Regions from separate parts of the Homo sapiens genome. Here region 2 is linked to region 1. The links are contacts of gene promoters, found by promoter capture Hi-C in human tissues and cell types (Jung and others, 2019). All regions are on one chromosome and are shown on one strand. Each heading gives the region's core, a stretch centred on a gene start or on the middle of the fragment in contact. The rest is flanking DNA. Distances are from core to core; before and after follow the strand shown.

What was found. Contacts are between HindIII fragments. The study calls those that stand out against the background at their distance.
Region 2: a contact is called between a fragment that was not itself captured here and the fragment with the promoter of CA7 in region 1, in 2 of the 25 tissues and cell types used here (lymphoblastoid cells and spleen).

Annotation. Positions count from the first base shown.
Region 1 is chr16:66,841,643-66,846,758 of GRCh38, forward strand. CA7 (carbonic anhydrase 7) reads left to right here and starts at 2,772. Exons shown (of 7, transcript NM_005182.3): 1 at 2,772-2,885. The coding sequence starts at 2,846. LOC124903699 (a long non-coding RNA gene) reads right to left here. Exons shown (of 4, transcript XR_007065088.1): 4 at 1-180. RefSeq lists an enhancer at 2,700-3,201. The HindIII fragment of the contact is 13,624 bases long and covers 1-5,116 here.
Region 2 is chr16:66,349,649-66,354,764 of GRCh38, forward strand. No RefSeq gene overlaps it. Among named protein-coding and RNA genes, the nearest start is that of CDH5, 14 kb to the right of the region's middle. The HindIII fragment of the contact is 4,941 bases long and covers 1-4,819 here.

The DNA.
Region 1 (5,116 bases), core at 1,522-4,021:
GAGGACTTGCATACACACACAAATGAGAGTCAAATTTAAAATCCGCTTCCTCCCTTTCCAGTGATTTTGGACAATATTGAACGAGGGACCCAGCAGCCCTGGGTTTTCATCTTTGTTCAGTCACTCACTGTGCATCTTCGAGCCCATCACTCATCCTCTCTTGAGCTTTGCTTTTCTCATCTGTAAAATGGGGTAAAAATCCCCCCAGGGTTACTATGTAGATGAAGTTGGATGCAAAACTATATGAAGAATTCCAATTGTATCTTTTTTTTTTTTGACACAGAATCTCACTCTGTAGCCCAAGCTGGAGTGCAGTGGTGCAATCTTGGCTCGCTGCAACCTCCGCCTCCTGGACTCAAGCAATTCTCATGCCTCAGCCTCCCGAGTAGCTGGGACTACAGGCACCTGCCACCATGCCTGGCTAATTTTTTGTATTTTAGTGGAGACGGGATGTCACCATGTTGCCCAGGATGGTCTTCAACTTCTGAGCTCAGGTAATCCGCCCGCCTCAGCCTCCCAAAGTGCTGGGATTACAGGCATGAGCTACTGTGCCAGGCCCAGTTGTATCTTTTAAGAACTACAAATAAATATGAAAAAGACCTGAGTCCCTCTGAAGAGGAAATGGGTCAATGGAGTTTGGGCTATCCCCAGAGCTCTCTCCCAGGTAAAGGATGTTGGCAGCTCTCCCAGGTAAAGGGTGGCTGGCTTCTCTGGGAGACAGAAGGTCCAGGCCTCACCCAGAAGCATGCCTTTGTCTTCTTGATCTGTAGATGCCATTTCCAGCTTGGAGACCTGGGGCCTTGACAGTGTTGGATTCTCTGTCACATCTGGTCTTGGGGGCTACTTATCTCTGTCATAAGTCCCCTGCCCCACCCTAGGGTCATATTTATATTAAGGATCCCTTCCTGCTCCTGGATCAGAGAGGGCCATCTTCGCAGGCCTGGGCAGTCACTGACATTGGCCCACCCAACCAGTTATCAATTAATCTCCATAGCTCTATCTGAGGATCTGGGGTTCAGGGCCTGGGAGAGGGAAACTGAGACAGACACAGAGATGAAGGGGAGCCAGGCAGACAAGATGGCAGATTCCTGTACAAGGTCAGCCAAGAGCAGGGCCTGAAAGAGTGTCTCTATTCAAGATCTGGACAGCAGACATTGTACTAGTGGCTGTTCGACTCCTGCTGAGTACAGGACCCCGGGTGGGATCATTTATCTGTCCTTCCATCCACCCCTCTGTTTGTCTTTCCAAAACTGCCTGCTGAGGACTAGCCAGAGACAAGCCCTCTCCCTGGCACAAGGCCACGTGCTAAGATGAATCAGATTGGGCCGGCTGGAGCCAGTGGGTGGAAGACAGAGGACGCACCAGGTGGAGGGCACAACAACGACCAGGGCTCGTGGGTGGGAAAATACTGGGCCAAGGCAGGCACTGGGGTTGAGTGCAGGGTGGAGGGTCTGAGCTCCCAGGGGGTGTACTGAAGGTTATGGGGAGGTCAGGAGAGGAGGGACAAACAGCAGGCTATGGAGGGACAAAGCAGAGTCCCTGAAGAAAGGAGGAAGCAGTAGACAAAATAACAGGGAGGGTGGAAGTCAGAGCCTCAGACTTAGCTCCATGGGGAAGCCACCTGGTGTCTGCCTGTCTTCAGGCCCATTGGTTGATGCCACTCCTTCTCACTCCCCCTTGGGGGATCTGGTTCCACCTGGGCCAAGGGTTCACATTGCCATTCCTGTCCCTGCATCTACCCCAGGGTTCCCGGACCCCCACACTCACAGCACACCCTTGTACCCAGCACCAAGGAGAAATGGTAAAGACCCCAGTGTCAGGCCAGGAGTGGTGGCTCACTCCTCTAATCCCAACACTTTGGGAGGCCAAGGCGGGTGGATTACTTGAGGCCAGAAGTTCAAGACCAGCCCAGGCAACATGGTGAAACCCCCATCTCTACAAAAAACACAAAAATTAGCTGGATGTGGTGGCACACACCTGTAATCCCAGCTACTTGGAAGGCTGAAGCAGAAGAATCACTTGAATCAAGGAGGTGGAGGTTGCAGTGAGCTGATATAGCACCAGCCTGGGTGACAGAGCAAGACTCTGTCTAAAAACAAACAAGCAAACAAACAAACAAACAAACAAATCCCACAAAACCCCCAGTGTCTGGAGTAAGAACCCCAGCTAATGAACCCTTTACCCCCTGGCTAGATGACCTTGGGCAAGTCACTTCACTTCTCTGGGCCTCACTCCCCTCCTCTGTCAGATAGGGCTGATGGAAGCACCCAACCTTGTAGGGTAACAGAGAGGGTTATACCATAGGAAGGACCCAAAGCTTGGTCCAGCGCCTGCAACAGCCTCTGGCAAACAGTGGAAGCTCCAGTTTTGGACACTTGATGGTCAGTGTAGTTTGCAGTTTAAAGGGGACTTTCCAACCCCAAAAGATTCAGGACCCAGAGCTCAGGTCTCTGGTGGTGGCATTTGCAGGTCTGGGGCAAGCCTAGGGAAGGGACGCCATGTGCGGCACGGGCATCTAGTGTCCCAGAGTCCGCACGGGTTGCTGGGGGAAAAAGAGGGATAGTCGCCCAGCCAGGGCAGGGGTGGGAGTTGGGGGGAGAGGGTTACTTCCTCCTGCCCTGAATCTCCGCTCGGGGTTCAACTGGCTCGCCGGCGGGCGAGGGCGGGGCAGGCCGGCCTCTCTGGCCCTGCTGGGGGGTGGGGGGCGGGTCCCCCGGGAACTGCTCCTCCCGCCAGCCGCTGCTTTAAGAGGCTGCTCCGCGGTAGCGAGCGGGGCCGGAGCCGCAGCCCGAACGAGCGGACCGAGCCGACCGGGCAGGTGCACGGCTGCGGGGACGGCAGCGGCATGACCGGCCACCACGGCTGGGGCTACGGCCAGGACGACGGTAGGCACAGACCTCCCCCACCGCCTCTGGCTCGGACCCCCGACCCAACTGCACTCGCCCCAACCCTCTTGCCCAGCTGGTTTCCCAGACCGGAAAGCTCCCACACTCCAGGCTGGGCGGGACCCCTCTTCCCATCCCGGCCCCCGAACTTGGCCCAAGCCTTGGTCCCCCGCGCCAGACGCAAAGTCCGCGCTGCGCCCCGGGTGGCCCCGCCGCCAGCAAGCGACCTGGCGGCTGTGTCCTGCCGCCTCCTCCGCGAAGCCCCTGATTGCCCAGCCCGCTCAGACCCAGGCCCAGACTCTCACTCACTCGCCCCGGGCGTGCGCAGCGCGTGGGGGTGGCCCAGGGCAGCGGGGGGCGGGCGCCGCGGAGCGCTGTGCGCGGGTGTCTGCGGGGAGCGCGCACGGCAAGTGAGCGGGGACCTCGGGGGAGCGGGGCTCCGCGTGGCAAGGGCGCAGTGTCCCCCGGAGAGAATTTCCCCGCAGAAGTGGCCGAGCTGCCTTCTCGGCCGGTACGTGAGGGAAGGGGGCACTTGGGGGCGCAAGCATGTGTCTGGGTGTCTACACCGAGCAGGGTGTTTGCGCACGTCCGGGTGTGAGTCGTGGGAGCCCGTGGCCCACACCAGCCTCCTGGGCTGACGCGGAAGAGAGCTCCTTCATCCTGCCTCAGTTTCCTTAGGACTCAGAGAAAGGGAGAAGAGGCAGAAGGTGAGAGCCAGACGGCTGGAGTGTGGGTCTGGGGCAGTCAATTCCCTTTGGGGCCATTTCTTACCAAGCAGGGGTGGGGGTGTGGGGTAAGGGGTTCCCTATTTCCCTGGGGAGCCAGTGCAAGACAGGTGGGGTGCGGAGAAGAAAAAGTAATGATGGGAGGAACATCCCCCAGCCCCACTCCTCTGCGGAGAGGCAGTCACTTTGTGAGGTTGGGTGGGGGACCACAGTCTGGGAAGCCAGAAAGTTGCAGTAGACCAGAGGGAGGGTGCTGTGGAGTCTTTGGCTCCCTCTGGGGCCCCAAGAACAAAGGAGCATATTTTGGAAGAGAACCCCCAGATCTGGGTATGCAAGAGCTGGAAAGAGACATTCAGAAAAAGATGATATAGACAAGCAGAGAGGGAGAGACAGGCAGACATGGGGCAGATGGACAGGACCCATAGGGATCATCTTCTCCCAGCACCTGCTCTGAGCCACCTTTTGGGTGCTTCCCCCAGAGCCAGAGTCCCCTGCCTCCAGCTCTTCTTGCTAGTCATGCCCACCAGCTCTGAGCACCCAGTGTCCTGTGTAGCCTGCTCCATGGGCCTGCTCCCCCAAAGCAGCCACCCCATCACCCAGGCAGAGCTGGATTGTCCAGTCGAGGAAGGGAAGGACAGAGGACAGAGGTGCCGGCATGCAGCAGTGTTCACAGGGCTTCAAAAATAACCCAGAGGGGCCGGGCCACGATTCTGAGTCATCCATTGGGGACACGGCTCTGTCGGCACCTGCTGCTGTTTTCTCAGGAAAACTTAAGAAGCCAAAAAGGGGGAGAAGCACCAGCCGGCAGTAGCTCTAAAAATAGGCTGCATCTCAGGATGTTCCCCAGGGAGATGCTGAGCCTCTCGGCTGCAGATGGATCCTCTGGGAGGCAGGTGGTGGGCGCCTGTGGGTGTGTATGCAGGTGTGTGTGTGTGTGTGTGTGTGTGTGTGCATGGGCATGTGTTTTGCTGTGGTCCTTTATGCAAACTTGGGTCTCCAACAGAGGGGTTTGTGTGTGAGAGAGCATATGCGTGTGTCAGATGTAGTCTGCAGGGCTGTGTGTGTGTTTGTACACATGAATGTTCTGGGCCTGGCTGCTCTGTGTGCACAATGGAAGATCATAGAAAGATTAATGTGTTCATAGGAAGATCTCTATGGACTTGCAGGCACACACATTGGGAGGGCAGCTGGGGGCAGTGCATGCACATGCTGTATTTATATTAGTACATATGCATGCACACATGTGTGAGTGGCCCTCAGTTCCCTCATCTGTGAAATGGGGATCTTGCTGGTTTCTATTTCACAAGGTGGTTGTGAGAGGCAAATACATGTCACAGAGTCAAAGCTAGGTTGATGTGAGTTTTTGTTGTTATTTATCACAAACACCAACACCAAATTGCCCAAGGCACAGAAAGAGGTGAGATACTGATGGGGTCAGGTCAGAGACTTCAGATGTCTGGAGGTCTCCCTGTTGGGGAGACTTATTACTCTGAGCCACCCCGAGCC
Region 2 (5,116 bases), core at 1,099-3,598, 490 kb before region 1:
TAAGTTTTGAGATCTACTGCACAACAGGGTGGCTCTTGTCAATCATATATGTCATATACGGTCATGTGAATAACAACATTTTGGTCAGCAGTGGACCACGTATATGATGGGGGTCCCAAAAGATTGTAATGGAGCTGCTGTATATAGGTGTACTATTTTTTATCTTTTATACCATATTTTTACTGTACCTTTCCTATGTTTAGATATGTTTAGATTTACAAATACTTACCATTCACTACAGAAGCATGTTGTACAGGTTTGTAGTCTAGGAGCAATAGGCTCTACCATATAGCCTAAGTGTGTAGTAGGCTGTATCATCTAGGTTTGTGTGAGTTCACTCCATGATGTTCACACAACAATGAAATTACCTAACAATGCACTTCTCAGAATGTCACCCTGTCGTTAGGTGACTTGTGACTGTATTTCAATAATTAAGACAGTAAGTTTCAAACATCTCACCACAAAAAAAAAAAAAAAAGGCAAATGAAGTGAGGGATATGTTAATTCACTTGATTTAATTATTTCACATTGTATACATGTATGAAAACATCACACTGTACTCCATAAATGTATATAATTATGATTTGTCAGTCAAAGTCATTTTAAAAAGAAGTGGGGAGAAGAGCATTGCAGGCGGAGGGAACAGCACGTACAAGGTTCCGGAGGTGGGAAATCTTACCACCAAGCCAAATGGCTTCATAATACAAGGGAATGTGGTCCAGAGAAGAAAGGATGGACTCAAAGTTACACCAAGCATCAGTGTCAGGGTCAGGAAGAGAAACCGAGCCAGGGGATACCCTGGCTCGAGCCACCACTCCTGCAGAGTGGCCGCATGCCCTGGTTCAGCTCCAGCAACCCCAGGACTCTGCACTCCACCTAACCCTGCCTCAACCTCCATGGTTCAGCGTTTTCATGCTGCCTCCCTGAGCCTCAGTCTTCCCATCTCTAAAATGGGGTTGTTTTCACCTAGAAAGATGGCCGTGGTAACACAAGGTAGCCCTCCCCAGCCCCACACCTGGCACATAGAACATACCAAGTTCACATGTTCATGCTCTCTGTTTGTCCCCTTCCCTTGTTGCAAGTGAGCATGCACCCTGTGCAGTAGGGTGCAGTAGGGTCTTCCCTACTGAGGACAGAACTCACCTGGAGCCCTGGTAACCATATGGCAGCCTCGCGGCCCCTCCCAGGAGGTTCAGGTTCAGCGGGGCTGGCTGGGGCTGCAGCACTGTGGTTTTTACAAGTTCCTAGGTGACTCTCGCCATCAGGAGACAGAGGAGCCCTGCTGAGTGGGATGGAGTCACACAGACTCTGGTGGGATGGTGGATCAGTATCTGCCTCACTGTGTGGCTTTGAAAAATCAAAGATGCTACTATTCCAGAGGGAGCACTGGATGAGATTTCAGGCTCCCACCCTCCAGTCCAAGAACAGAGTAGGTGCTCAGCCAATTGTGTTATTGTGGGACACTCAGCAATGGATGCAGGCAAGGGGGACCAGGAGGAAGGCCCCCCCAGTAGGCACACAGCAAGCCAGGGTTGGCCCTCCACCTGACCTTTGGGTCAGTTAGGTCCTGCCAGGAGATAAAGGGTCCCAGCAGTGGGGTGCAAAGCTTTAGGTCAAGGCATTCCCCCAACGGGGAGCCTTAGTACTTGGAAGGGAAACTGACCACAACACAAAACAACAGCTGCCCCCATTTCTGACTCCTGGTGTGTGATCCGTGCATCCTAGCAGGTGCCTTGCCAACACCCTCTCCTTTAAGCCCATTGCGGGTTGCAAGGCAAGATGCATGATGGCTGCATGGACCATGAGCCCTCGGCACTTTTGCCTTCGTGGGCCCCTTCCTCCCTAAAACAAAGATTATACTTTATCTGCTGAGCGCAGTAGCTCACACCAGTAATCCCAGCACTTTAGGAAGCCCAGGCAGGTGGATCACTTGAGGTCAGGAGTTCAAGACCAGCCTGGCTAACATGGTGAAACCCATCTCTACTAAAAAGACAAAACTTAGCTTGGCATGATAGCATGCACCTATAATCCCATCTACTGGGGAGGCTGAGGCAGGAGACTCACTTGAACCTGGGAGGCGGAGGTTGCAGCGAGCTGAGACCACACCACTGCACTCCAGCGTGGGAGACAAAGAGAGACTCCATCTCAAAAATATTAAATTAAATTAAAAAATAAAGATTATACTTTATGCTTTTTGGTATAAACCCATATACAACTAAGCCTGGCTTATATTTATTTTTTTCTTCTGATTTTAAAATAAATTAGAATATTTTTGTATGTCCCTGTATTCACTTTTTTTTTTTTTCAGTTTTTATTTATATTTTTGTTTTTTAGAGACAGAGTCTCGCAATGTTGCCCAGGCTGGAGTGCAGTGACACAATCATAGCTCACTGTAACCTCGAACTCCTGGGCTCAAGTGATCCTCCTGCCTCAGCCTATCTAGTAGCTGGGACTACAGGCACATGCCATCCTGTTGGGCTAATTGTTTAAAGCTTTTTTAGAGATGGGGGTCTCACTATGTTGCCCATGCTGGACCTGGCCTCAAGTGATCCTACTGCCTCAGGCTCCCAAGGTCCTGCTGTTTGCCACTGCACCCAGCCTGTATTAGTTTCTTCTTGCTGCTATGACAAGCTACCATAAATTTAGTGGCTTAAAACAATGCAGATGTATGACTTCATAATTCTGGAGGTGAGAAGTCCGCAATGGGTGTCCCTAGGCTAAAACCAAGGTGTTGGCAGGGCTGCATGCCTTTCAGGATGCTCTATGGGAGAATCCACTTCCTTGCCTTTTCCTGCCACATTCCTTGGCTTGTGGACCTTTCCTCCCTCTTCCTACACATTACTTACATTACACACATTCTTACCTCCCTCTTTACATTACACACATTCTTACCTCCCTCTTTACATTACACACATTCTTACCTCCCTCTTCTTACACATTACTTACATTACATTACATTCTGACATTACTGTGATACTCAGTCTCCGTCTCCCTCTTCCACATTCTAGGACCCTTGTAATCACTTTGGGCATCCCAGGAAAATCTCTCTATTTAAGCTCATCTAATCAGCAACCTTAATTCCACATACAGCCTTCATTCCCATTTGCCATGTGGCATAACATTGTCAGTTTCCAGAGATTGAGATGCGGACCTCTTCACGGGCCATTATTCTGCCAACCGCATCCCTTAAAAGTAGCTTGGGTCCTAGGAACTGTGTTTCCTGTGCCTAAAATGCATACATTGGTCCTGGGCATTACTATTCCCCTTTATAGCTGAGAAAACTGAGGCTCAGAGAGTGGAAGCAATTCACCCAACGTCACACAGCCAGGAACCATGGAGCTAAAATGCCAGCTTCACCTTGCCTTGTTCTGAAGCCAGGGGTGGGGTGGGTGGCTGTGGTCAGGGTTCTGGGGAAGGTCACACTGGGGGACCAAAGTCATCTGCACCAACAGGCACAGCACCTGGGAGGGCCTGGGTTTGGTGGAGAGGGGAAGTGCTGGATGGCAGAGGTTGCCCCATTCCCTTCTGCCAAGGCTCCCAGTACTCAAGCAGGGAGGCAGCGCCTGCAGGCACCGCGCAGCAAGCAGGGGAGAGCCAGGGAGTGTTCCAAGGCTTCGTGATTCACAGCCCAGCAGATGCTTCCCTGAACCAATATGCTAATTCTTCACAAAACAGATTCATTTATCTGACATTTATGACCGGAGACAGAAATCATGTTGGGGGAAATGTATCACTTTTCAAATTCACATTTGTTTCTTCCTCATCACCTACCAGCAAGCAGATGGGGCAGAGAGTTATTTATTTGAGGTTCCTGTTAACCGATAACTAAGTCACTAACACACTACGAAAATCAAATGCAATTACGCAAGAAGAGACGCTGGAGACCCCAGTGTGCCCACAGAGCCCAGAGAGGCCAACAGTGGCGGGGGGCGCTGGGGAGGGAGTACGTCCAGTAGAAGTCAACTGAACTCTGAGCCTGGGAATTGGGAAAGTGACAATAGATGTTCCCAGGGCCACAGCAGGACACAAGCATGGTGAGGAAGGGGAAGGACCCAAGACTTGAGGGCAGGGCCCCCAAAAGCTGATTAACCCACCTCCCAGAATAGTAACACTGGCTGCTTACAGTGTGCCTACTAGGTGCTGGACATCTGGCAGACAGCTTCTTCGTTAACCTCCACGGTGGGACAGCCATGGCTGACGTGTATTAACACGCTGACTATGGATGACATTGTCCCTGCATCTCACTCAGCGCCTGCCGAAAGTGTTCCCAGTTTTCCAGGTGAGAAAACCAAGGTGCAGAGAGGTGAATTCACATACCCATGATCACACAGCTCAGGGGCTGGGATTCACAGGTGGGCACCAAAGGCCAGAGAGAGGCAGGTCTCCTCGCTCTGCCAGCCAGGTCTGAGAACCAAGAGTCCCACTGAGGGAGGCCGCCAGACCCTCTCCACTTCCCCAAATCCACCACCTGCCAAGGCAGCGCCACTGGAATCTCTGCTGCTGCTGCTGTTGCTGCTGCTGCTCACCCCACAATTGATGAGGGTCTCAGGATGAAAGCAGAGAAGGAGGCGGAGGGCAGGGGGGAATTCACCACCACCACTCCATTCCCCAGCTGCCCACCCCAATTCCCTAACAGATAATTCTCCCTAATGTTTATTGCCTTTCTGCTTATTTATTAGCCAGGCTATGTCAAAATGTATGCTAAATCAATGTTGTAGCACAGCTCAGCTGTGAGGATTGATTTCTTTTATTTAAGGTGAAACAAGTTTAGTTTGGAGCCCAGAGCAAAATTCTAACGTGCTGAAAACATGCTGCCTGGCAAGATTCCTGGGAAGGATTCCTAAGAATCCTCCCAAAAGCTGGAGCCCCTCTGGGAAAGCAGCCTTCAAGGCACATGGTTCCCAAGGTACCACCAGCAAATCCAAGGAGGACAAGAGAGAGGGAAGGTTCAGGGCTGAGTCCCTCCCATGTGCCCAGTAAGAGCAAAACAGAAACCACCACCTCAGCAATGTTGGGGAGGGTATGTGTGTCCTCCCTCCCACTCCCTAGCTCAGATTACTAAATACAGAAACTGAGGCACAGAAGTGTTGAGAAACTCACCCAAGCCACATAGCTA